Regions from separate parts of the Homo sapiens genome. Here region 2 is linked to region 1. Evidence: promoter capture Hi-C in human tissues and cell types (Jung and others, 2019). All regions are on one chromosome and are shown on one strand. Each heading gives the region's core, a stretch centred on a gene start or on the middle of the fragment in contact. The rest is flanking DNA. Distances are from core to core; before and after follow the strand shown.

The links. The method cuts DNA at HindIII sites, captures the fragments that hold promoters and counts their contacts. A contact is called where the count stands out against the background at its distance.
Region 2: the fragment with the promoter of GPX2 here is called in contact with a fragment that was not itself captured in region 1 in 1 of the 25 tissues and cell types used here (dorsolateral prefrontal cortex).

The regions. Positions count from the first base shown.
Region 1 is chr14:64,497,068-64,502,829 of GRCh38, reverse strand. The region is part of intron 1 of ZBTB25 (zinc finger and BTB domain containing 25); the gene reads left to right. Among named protein-coding and RNA genes, the nearest start is that of ZBTB25, 3.9 kb to the left of the region's middle. The HindIII fragment of the contact is 7,112 bases long and covers 591-5,762 here.
Region 2 is chr14:64,939,531-64,945,528 of GRCh38, reverse strand. It overlaps GPX2 (glutathione peroxidase 2), which reads left to right and starts at 2,784. Exons shown (of 2, transcript NM_002083.4): 1 at 2,784-3,024; 2 at 5,691-5,998. The coding sequence starts at 2,803. The region is part of intron 3 of CHURC1-FNTB (CHURC1-FNTB readthrough); the gene reads right to left. The HindIII fragment of the contact is 8,107 bases long and covers 1-5,742 here.

The sequences.
Region 1 (5,762 bases), core at 2,897-5,396:
CTCTCGTTTTACAGAGAAGACACCAGGCCTGAAGAGCGTGATGTAGCTGGAGCTAGCTACACCTCTTGATAGCTAAGACTCCAAGGCTCCAGACACCTTGGTGATTGCACTCTCCACCATGCCAGGACCGCAGTGCCAGTTTACCCCACTCACCTGTAGAGAATGTATCCGGCGGAGGTCATTATATATACTTGGCTTGATTCAGGTTATGGAGAAGTCAGGCATGGCCACTGTGTGGGTTTGATGGTATTTCTAGGTGAGGTAGGCCGCCTATGGTGTATTTTTGGAACTAAAAGCCTACACCCCCCAGCCACCCCTGAAAGTTTCATTGCTGTTCTCTATTATTTGCAGCATTGGTTGCTTCCTTATGTTAAGGCATCAAAGTCTTCTTTAACAATCTGGATATATTTTAGTTAAGGGTAAATCGTGAATCCGTTATCGGACATCAACTCCTTAATAGGGAACAGAACACTGATGGGATATGACATGGAACAGATTAATTCTGAGAGCTGGCAGTCAGTGAAATATCAAGGTGTGGTCAGGAAGAAAACAGAAAGGAACCCACGTAACCTGCTAACACCTTTTTTGTCCAGTCCTACCTTGAATGTCTTATTTGCATGTAGTAGAGATGGATTCTGCTCAAGTTGGCCGCTGTTTACTGAGTACTTGCAGTGGGCCAAGTATCATACTAGCTGCTTTCGTAGATGAACTTTGTGTCTTTACCAAAAAGGAGATGGTACTGTCTTCATGTTACAAGCCTGAGGAAACAGGCTCATTACCTGGGCTGTGGTAATACAGTCATTCGCAGTAGAATTTAAGCCTAGATCGCTTATCTCTCAAGTCCAATCAGTGCTGTTTTGCATTATATCTTGCTCCTGTTTCAGCCGGGAAGGGAATGAGAGAATCGCCTGTGGCTGATTTATTGGCGCCTGTGGTTGCCCAGAGAGGCCAAGCAGGACTTTCAGCTGCCCTCTATGCCTTACAAAGTGGAGCTGTGAGCTTCCACCCTATCTCCTGAGGGGAATGTGAAGGAGCCAGGCTGTCTAGCTGGGGAGGAGGTGCCTTGGCCGTAAAATATCCTGGCCAGGGCTGTGCTGGGAAGTGTTGCATAATGTCCTCCCCACCACTGAACCAAAGTGATTTATTTGCTATGGTCCGTAGGTGGTGCCTGACCAACTTGTCCATTTTAGCAATAACAGGGCCAGAAAAGAGTTGGGGGTTTTATATTATTGCAGGGTTTTTCCTTGTTTTAAAAAAGCAGTGCAGGTGCTCTTATCTTGATAAGTTATAAAGTGCTTCTTTCTGCACCACTTCCTGTGCCCCTTTTCTGTGTATTTATTCCAAATAGCATGTGAACTTCAGTCTTTTAAGAAGAGAAAGCTAAGAAAATATTGCTCCAGTTTATTAGCACAGGCTATGGAGACAGACCTGGCTTTTTATCTCCACTTTATACCATTTGCTGATTGTGTGTCCTAAGCTTAGGATTTTTCCTCATTTGTAAAATGGAAATGAAAATAATACATTAGTCATCACAGTGACGATTTTAAGAGATAGTGTATATAGAGCACTTAGCACAAGGCCTCGCATATAGTATTTATTATAATAATAGGTTTTGAAAATAACCAGAATAGTATTCTCCCTAAAAAGGAAAGATATTGCTACTTGAACCTGCTTAGGGATAGAGGAGGAAGAAGAAAGTGTTTGTAACAAACATCAGTTTCAGGATTATTGATTAAATTTTTTTATACTTCTGGGGTTTTTTTTGTTTGTTTGTTTTTTGAGACAGAGTCTACCTCTGTCACCCAGGCTGGAGTGCAGTGGTGTAATTTCAGCTCACTGCAGCCTCCGCCTCCTGCATTCAAGCGATTCTCTGGCTTCAGCCTCCCGAGTAGCTGGGATTACAGGCGCCTGCCACCACACCTGGCTAATTTTTGTATTTTTAGTAGAGACAGGGTTTCGCCATGTTGGCCAGGCGGGTCTTGAACTCCTGACCTCAAGTGATCCGCCCACCTTGGCCTCCCAAAGTGCTGGGATTATAGGTGTGAGCCACTGTGCCTGGTCCATGTTTTCTTTATCCATTTGACTATCCATGGACATTTGAGTTTTTCCCCCTTATTGGCAATTCTTCTGCCTCAGCCTCCCAAGTAGCTGGGATTACAGACGTCTGCCACCACGCCCAACTAATTTTTGTATTTTTAGTAGAGACGGTTTCACCATATTGGCCAGGCTGGTCTTGAACTCTGACCTCAGGTGATCCACCCTCCTCGGCCTCCTAAAGTGCTGGGATTATAGGCATTTATTTACCGTTCTGCTTTCCCTTTGCTAGCAGGAATTTTCTTTCTCTCTCTCTCTCTTTTTTTTTTTTTTTTTTTTTTGCTTTATTGGGAGAAAAAGTGCTTAGAGTGTTCAGTTATTTTTTATATTTTTCTAATTCATTTCTTCTCTGGTTACAAATCAGTCATGCATGGATGTTTTATTTTTTCTGAAATCTCCAAGCACTTTAAGCAAAGGTTTTTATTAGCCCACTTGAGTAGTGTGTTCATGGGAGTATACTTCCATTGCGAAAGAAGTATTGGTTTACTTGTATCCAGAAGTTTTAGTTACTCTTGCCTGTACTGTATTCTAGGTCTGTACTAGCATTATAATTTTCCATCTTTCTCCTGTCCTTTGAGTACCTTATTTTTTCTTTTAGAAATTTGGTTTGTCTTTAATGGACTGAGAGGAATCTTTTCCTTTCTTTCTCCGGGTTCTGATTTTTTTTAAAGGTCTATTAACAATTTGTGCTTACTGTTGTTAGTATTCTTGTGTGCTTGGCTTTATCAGGCATCCTACAATGTAATGTTGGTTAGATGGGAATTAGAGGTGCTTGGAGGTTGGCTATGTCTGCCAACAGGCAGGAGGCCCCAAACTAACGTTTCCCAGTTCCATTAAAGGTTTCTAGAGCATAACTACTCTTCCTGTTTCATCTACCCCCTCCATACCCTCTTTGCTAACATTCTCAGTAGATCTTAATAAGCAGATGTCTGGAATTACAGCAGATTTTACCTCAAACAGTATTTTCAGATTTAGAATTTCTGTATCATTTTTAGGTGTTATGAAATCCAATCTAGGTGTAATGGAGTAAGAGAGTAAATATTTCTTTTTCCTAAATACTATTTGAAAAGAAGTCTGAAAATAGTGTGTTCCTCCACCCCCCCACCCATGCCCATCCTGCCAGTTTAGGAGCACTTTTGATTCTTTTTTTTCTTTTTCTTTTTTTTTTTGAGATGGAGTTTCACTCTTGTTGCCCAGACTGGAGTGCAATGACACAATCTCAGCTCACCACAACCTCTGCCTCCTGGGTTCAAGCGATTCTCCCGCCTCAGCCTCCCGAGTAGCCGGGATTATAGGTATGTGCCACCACACCTGGCTAATTTTGTATTTTTAGTAGAGACGGGGTTTCTTCATGTTGGTCAGGCTGGTCTCGAACTCCCGACCTCAGGTAATCCACCTGCCTCGGCCTCCCAAAGTGCTGGGAGCGAGCCACCATGCCTGGCCATGGAGCACTTTTGTTTCTTAATCTGGCCAATATTTTAAGGTTACAATTAGAATTACAGTTGTTTATATTTGTTCATTTAATGTAGTCAACATAATTTCCATACTTTGAACACTCTTACGGAATTGTTTATTTATAGAGACTAGTATAAAGTTGTTCTATCTTACTTAGTTTGAACTAATCCAGAGTTATACAATCTAGAAAGTAAAGAAAGTTTTTATTGTCTCTTAAATATCAATGTAATTGTAGAGTGTGAAATAATTTCTTGGGTTTCCTTGGTCCCGTGTTCTTCTGAGGCAGTGGTTCTTAACTGAGCAGTCACGTTAGAATCACCTGGGAAGCTTTTTAAAAAAAGAATCTGGGCTGGGCGCGGTGGCTCACGCCTGTAATCACAGCACTTTGGGAGGCCGAGGCGGGTGGATCATGAGGTCAGGAAATCGAGACCATCCTGGCTAACACAGTGAAACCCCGTCTCGACTAAAAATACAAAAAAATTAGCTGGGTGTGGTGGTGGGCGCCTGTAGTCCCAGCTACTCGGGAGGCTGAGGCAGGAGAATGGCGCGAACCCGGGAGGCGGAGCTTGCAGTGAGCCGAGATCGTGCCACTGCACTCCAGCCTGGGCAACAGAGTGAGACTCTGTCTCAAAAAAATAAAAATAAAAATAAATAAACAAATAAACAATCTGGCCGGGAACAGTGGCCTACGCCTGTAATCCCAGCACTTTGGGAGGCCAAGGCAGGCGGATCGCCTGAGGTCAGGAGTTCAAGACCAGCCTGGCCAACGTGGCGAAACCCCATCTCTACTAAAAATATAAAAATTAGCCAGGCGTGATGGGCACCTGTAATCCCAGCTACTCAGGAGGCTGAGTCCGGGAGAAGCACTTGAACCCAGGAGGCGGAGGTTGCATTGAGCCGAGATCGCGCCATTGCACTCCAGCCTGCAGCCTGGGCGACAGAGCGAGACTCTGTCTCAAAAAAAAAAAAAAAAGAATCTGTGCCTCACCCCTAGCAATTCAATTCTGTTTGGGCTAAGCCTGGGTTGGGACTCAGACATCAATACAGCTCTGCATAGAAGGTTTTACAGTATAGTCAGCAATAAGAACCTCTGTTTCAGGATAAAATGATTTCTACAAACATTGTTTCATTCTCTACATAATTAAATGTCACACCTCTACAGTCATGTGAAAGTTCCATTAAAAAGTTAGTCGCTATATAAAGTCTTTTATCATATGGCACTTGAAATATTTTGCTTTTGCCTTTGTATTTATAGCCATGAGTAAGTAGCTCAAAAAAGATGTACATATTCCTCTGCCAACTTTCCTGTCTCCTTGTCTGAATGAAAATTCATCATAAAGTCTCAGTGGTAAGCATTGACAGAGAAAATACCTAAGACTGTTTTCCTACAGAAACAGTCGTCTTGCTCTTTTTGTTCCTTTTTTATTAAGGATTCTTACAGCCTGAGAGAATGAAGAGCTGTGTAGTCCAGGATATCCGGCTGGCTACCATAGATCTGAGAGTCCAGTCTAGTACAGTAGATTTTTCTAAATACATAAGAATCAAAGATATGTATTGAATATCAAGCCAGCTTTAAACAAACATAGATACTAGTATAAAGTTGTTCCATCTTAATTTGAAGTAATCCAGAGTTACTACAATCTAGAAGGTAAAGAAGGTTTTTGTAATCTCTTAAATATCAATGCTAAAACTATTATGATAATGTATCACTTTGATAACAGATAAAACTTTTAAAAATGTAGCACTCATATTTTGATTCTGGTATTTATAAGTATAATAAAATACTTTATTTTTCCATAATTTCTCTCACATCTTAAAATTCTCACCAGAAATTCTCAAATGTAACTTCTAAGCTCTTTCTGTATTCATGGGAAACTTTAGCTATTTCACATACTAGAGAAAATAAAATAGACAGTCAAAGAATGATGAGCAAAGGCTATACAAAAAGTCTAGCTAATAATTTGCAGAGTAGGTTGTATTAGAAAATGTTCTAATAACTCAATGGAATGGGGCTATTGATTTGAAGTAAAATCTGGTATATTACAACATCAAAGATCTCCTATTATGCAAAACAAGTTTGAATGCACCTCATGTGTACTTGGTGTTTTTTTTTTAATAGATTTTAATTTGTTTCATTTTATACACTTGAAAAGTTTACTCCCTTATTTGATTCAACATATTTGCAAAATCTGCCAACAGTGTAAATGTTGAAA
Region 2 (5,998 bases), core at 1,535-4,034, 440 kb before region 1:
AAAGCCAAGATGAGTCTCATCTGTTTGTGTGGGTCAGGAACGGGTCTTCCTGAAGGCATGAGGTGGGACTGGATAATCTTTCAGATTTGTGATTGGATACCTCGGGGGAGCAGAGGCAGACTGGGATCTCAGGACTGCAGGTATTTCATACTTTGGGATATGGAATTGATGGAGGTGGAGAATATTGGGGATAAGGACTGAATGAAGAAAGGAGTAGGACAACGCAGGACAACAGTAGTCTTAAGATTTTCACTACACTTTACCCGGCACTAGTGATAGATAAACTCTTCTGACCCTAACCATCACCGTGTGAGATGGGGAGGGTGGTTATCTACCCAGGTCCCACAGGCAAGGAAACAGATGATCAGAGAACTTAAAGATTTGGCCGGGTGCAGTGGCTCATGCCTGTAATCCCAACTCTGGGAGGCCGAGGCAGGAGGACTGCTTGAGCCCAAGAGTTTGGGACCAGCCTGGGCAACATAGTGAGACACTGTCTCTAGAAAAAATTAGCTGAGTGTGGTGGCTTGTGAGGCTGAGGCCAGTGGATCACTTGAGCCCAGAAGGTCAAGGCTGCAGTTGCACCATTGCACTCCTGCCTGGGTGACAGAGAAAGACCCTGTCTCAATAAAAAGAGCTTAAAGATTTGCCTAAGGGTCCGAAGTAACAGTGGCAGAATTGTGGTTGTAAACCACTGAATTGGAATCACTGGAGGGCAAAGCTTTGGCATCTCTAGAAAAATTCCTACAAACAATTCTCATTTGCAGTCAGAATTAAGAACCACCAACCCAGGCTTTCTGCCTAAGCCAGTGCTGTGTCCAGAGCAAGCACTGTCCCACAGAAAGCCATAAGAATCATACGCTGCTTAGTGTATGCTTAAAGTTGTAAGCTTTTGGAAAGCGAGGCCAGTTTGAGGTAAATTTGGAGACAGAGATATTTTAGGAGAGCCTCACCAAGTATATTCCATTAGGAAAGGTGAGAACCCTGGGAGTCTGAAGGGTCCAAGGTCACACCAGGAGAAAAGGGATGGCATGTACCTAAGGAAGAGGGAACCCCCACACTCCTCATCTTGGGAACTCCCATGGCCTTCTTGAAGAAGGCTTGCAAAAGAGCAGAGAATAAGAGGTGTCTCTGGAGGCCCAGAGAGTACTAGGGGGAAGCTCTAGGTATGCACATAAATCCGGCAAGTTACAGTTCTGCCCACTATCAGTGCCAAGTCCTTGTGACTCAGTGGCTTGGTGGGGACTCTTTCTTATTGGTTGCTTCTAGGAACTCCACCCAGCTTCAGCAGGGGACACACTTCCCTCTACACTTCCTGTCACTCCTTCTGTCCACTTAGGTAATGGAAACTTGTTTTTAGGGAGCAGCCAGCTGAGACACATGGTCCCTGTATACTTGAACAGCCATGGAAAAGCTGCAAGGCAGCTTGGCGCTCCCTGGTGATAATTACTTCATCTCATCTCAACAAATCAGATTCTCAAGACCAGCTGCTCCCCGGACTTGCTTATTCTTTGTTCCAAGGAGACAGTTCCCAATGGATGTGCCCCTGTGAAAACACCCTAGTAAACATTTGCTTTGTTATTGAAATTTCACTCTAAAATCCCAAAGCTAGGTCAAGCCCCATTGCTAGTTTTACTGATGAAGAAATCAAGGCATTTTTAAAAGAGTAACTTGTTGAGTTGGCGGGTGCTTGGGTCTTTTCGGTTTCTGTGGCTTCCAGGGGTGGGCCTCTGAGATGGCCCTTAGCAGATGTCCTGCGATGCACTGCACGCCTCTTGTTGAAAGCATCAGGGGTGACCTGCCTGCGTCTGGAACCACAGCAGCTTCAACTTCCTCCACACACTTCCTTCTGTGGGAAGGTGACCAGCACAAACCCGCTCTGAAAAGTCTTGGGGACCAAATCTCTGTCTGAGAGGAAGGTAGGTGCAGTTCATCCACTAAGTTTATCCACCTGTTCTGTGACTCCTCTTCACCATTCTCCCAGCAACGACTGAGCCTCATGACTTGGGGGCTGGGGGATGAGGTGGAGGTGGGGGATATAATATAGGAGATGGTACAGTGCAGGGGCAGAGGCTGGTGTGTTCTCCAGGACAAGTGGCACCACGCACTGAAAGACTTTTCAAGATAAACACAACTTTGTCTCTTCAGCCTGGCAAGAGCTGAGGCACTGAAAACTTCTTTTTTCCCCTAGAAAATGACACACTCTCCTCCTAAGGGTCCCTTTGATTTTGTCCTGGTGGAAAGCAACAAAGAGAAGAACGTGAACAGGAATATGTATATTTCAGTTGTCATCTGAGTCCCATGGATAGGAGGCTCAATTCTCTTCTTCATCTTTCAGATCTCCGCAGACCCTGCCCTCTCACTGTACAATTCAGAGATTGACACTCAGCAGGCATTCAATAAACGTCTGTGTCAAATGAGAACAACTTGATGGGGCAAGTAGGAGTCAATCCTGCATCCCTCCCTCCCTTTTTTTCCTCTCCATTCGACCTTTAGGGCTCTGGTTTCCTGTAAGCAGTGAATTATTTACCTCTGCTCATAGATATCAAATTGGCCCTTCCCAGGTTGCAGCAGGGTGGGGCGGGGAGGCGGCCTTGTTCAGTCTGTTAATAGGAGGAGCAACCTCCTTGTTCAAACAGCACTTACAGGTGGGGACCTGTTTTTGCTAAGTCATCCTGGGGATGCTCAAAGCTCCATTGTTAGATCCTTTCTGTCCTCCTTCCTGGCTCCTCCTTCCTCCCCACCCCTCTAATAGGCTCATAAGTGGGCTCAGGCCTCTCTGCGGGGCTCACTCTGCGCTTCACCATGGCTTTCATTGCCAAGTCCTTCTATGACCTCAGTGCCATCAGCCTGGATGGGGAGAAGGTAGATTTCAATACGTTCCGGGGCAGGGCCGTGCTGATTGAGAATGTGGCTTCGCTCTGAGGCACAACCACCCGGGACTTCACCCAGCTCAACGAGCTGCAATGCCGCTTTCCCAGGCGCCTGGTGGTCCTTGGCTTCCCTTGCAACCAATTTGGACATCAGGTGAGGGGTCCCTCCTTGTAATGCACCAAAAGTGTTGGGTTGGTGTAGCTCAGGTGGGATAAAAGGAGAGGCTGAATGACCATGTTTTGGAGTGTCTGGAATAATGGGGTATGTTTTGTTAAGCTAGGTCTTTAGGTGCATGTGACATACCAAGAGAAGGTATATATTTTTTAAGATTAAACACTGAGGCTGTGTGATTTTTATAGTTTACTGTCTTTCTACTATATTACTCCATGAGGGCTGGTTCCAGGTCTGTGTTTCTCTCCACTGTGTCCTCAGTGCCTAGGGCACAGAAAGCACTCATTAAATATTTGTTGAATAAATGAGTGGAGAAAGTAGAGGCCAGGAATCAAACAAGAATTGGACAGACTCAAGAGACCTTAGCTCTAGCTGGACTTGGTTTTGCTATTTAATGGCTCTGTGCCCTCGGAAAGGGCGCTTCATTTTTCGGTTTAGTTTCCTCATCTGTAAATTGGGGATAATACCACTTAGCTCATAGGATTATTATGATGTTTAGGGGACAGGATATACAAAAGTAACTTGAAAAATATAAAGTACTATGCAAATGCAAGCAAACTGTTATTTAGATTGAGGATGATTTTTGTTGGTTTAAATTAGCCAAGTGGAAAGAAAATAAGCAGGAAAGAGAAAGGTTTTCAAAAGGCACGTGCCTCTGGGCATTACATGCACCTATTTCTGATTAATGGGTCAAGCTGTTATAGATCTTCAGCCCACACACCTCGAGTTCTCTTTTAGGGATTCTTCTATTTCCACCTATGATTTTAACGTACAAGCAGGGAGAATGAACCCAAGCGAACCCTCTCGTTATAATCCCCTTAGTTCAATTCACAGTGGTATGAAGGTGAGGAAGACAGGAAAGCAGGAAGGCTGAAGCATCACTGGCTGTGACAAACCTGAGCCCAAACTGTTCACTGCTCTCACTGTTCTTCCCTAAGTTTTCTGTCTGGCCTTTTCTAGAGCAGGAGAGACAGAAGTAGCAAACCCTCTTTCGAGATGTCCCTCCAGCCCCAGAAGTACCTCCAGCCTCACACCATCTCTTCAGCCTAGCAAGTTGCTGGAGGGAGTCTATAACCTACCAGGAGCCAGCCAGCCATTTGTATCAAGAAATAGAAATCTGCCAGGGTACAGTGGCTCACACCTATAATCCCAGCGCTTTGGGAGGCTAAGGTAGGCAGATTGCTTGAGCTCAGGAGTTCAAGATTAGCCTGAGCAACATGGTGAAACCTTGTTTCTACAAAAAATTGCAAAAATTAGCCAGGCATGGTGGCATGTGCCTGTAGTCACAGCTACTTGGGACGCTGAAGTAGCAGGATCGCCTGAGCCTGGGAAGTCGAGGCTGCAGTGAGCTATGATTGTGCCACCGCACCCCAGCCTAGGTGACAGAGTGAGGCCCTGTCTCAGGAAAAAAAACAGAAACAAAAACAGAGAAGTCCACTAGAGATCAGCTCTGGGCTCATGATGTCATGATGGCCTGGAACTGACTGAACTAGTTAGTTCTCACAGGTCAGAAGCAGGAACTTTCTCCCAGAGGAAGGTATCTGTCTGTTAAATTGGAAAGGTAGAGGTGGAAAAGAAGGGTTCCCATAGGCCTTTTGGATTGTCATGAATGGTGATGCTGAGAGGGAATAGGACAGGGATGGCAGTGGGGAGGGAAAGGCAGGGACCAGGTTTTGAGCCAAAGCATGCGTAGCTGAGAGCAGTGAGTGGATAGGAGGTGCAGCAGTCTTTGGGTAGCAGCCTACTCAAGAAAAGAATGATAATTACATACTCACAATCTTTAGCCATCAAGCACTTATTTCCTCAACTCCCCCTCCCCCTGGCCTATTGCCAAACCCTAAATCCTGTATCCTATTTACTTCATGCCTGTTGGTTACTAAGTAGTTCCATTTAGAGTACACATTCATTGTTGCCTTGAACTTGCTCTGCTGTTATGGCACCTGAAAACTAGATGTTCTTGGATGGGGGTCTTCCTTCATCAAAGCTTCTTCCCATTTGTACTTCAGTTCTAGGACAAGGCAAGAAGAAAGCAAGAAGCTGTAAATCCCATTCCTCTGGGTCTCAATTTCACCCTCAGTTCAAGGAGCTGAGTAGGCAGAGGCAAAGGCTATACTCAACACACGTGCAATTGAAAGCAGGCGAGGCAAAACCAGGGCAGAGGAAAGGAAAGGGGTGTGTGTGTAGGTATGGATTTATGGGTAGGTGGGTCGGTAGGTTAGTTGAAGAGGAGGTTCTAAGCAGTATAACCTAAGCCTCTTTTCTCTTTCTTCTGCTTCAAACACCTTAAGAACTGCTCAGGGTAGACTGGAGACAAAAGCAACAGCTCAGAAGTGCTAAATCTTGAAGAGCAGCCAAAGCATGGGCAACAAAGTGAGACCCCATCTCTACAAAAAAAAAAAAAAATTAGCCGGGCATGGTGGCCTGTGTCTGTAGTCTCAGCTACTAAAGAGGCTGAAGCAGGAGGAATGCTTGAGCCCAGAAGTTCAAGGCTGCAGTGAGCAACACCTCGTCTGTCTTGTCTCTCTCTCTTTCACAGTGAAAAAGAATGACCCTGGGGAGGGAGTGTAGGAGGGTGAAAGAGTTTCATGTTGTGGATCTTTCTCTTCCCCCACCCACTGTCCACGCACTTTGTCTTTTTCCTCCCCTAGGAGAACTGTCAGAATGAGGAGATCCTGAACAGTCTCAAGTATGTCCGTCCTGGGGGTGGATACCAGCCCACCTTCACCCTTGTCCAAAAATGTGAGGTGAATGGGCAGAACGAGCATCCTGTCTTCGCCTACCTGAAGGACAAGCTCCCCTACCCTTATGATGACCCATTTTCCCTCATGACCGATCCCAAGCTCATCATTTGGAGCCCTGTGCGCCGCTCAGATGTGGCCTGGAACTTTGAGAAGTTCCTCATAGGGCCGGAGGGAGAGCCCTTCCGACGCTACAGCCGCACCTTCCCAACCATCAA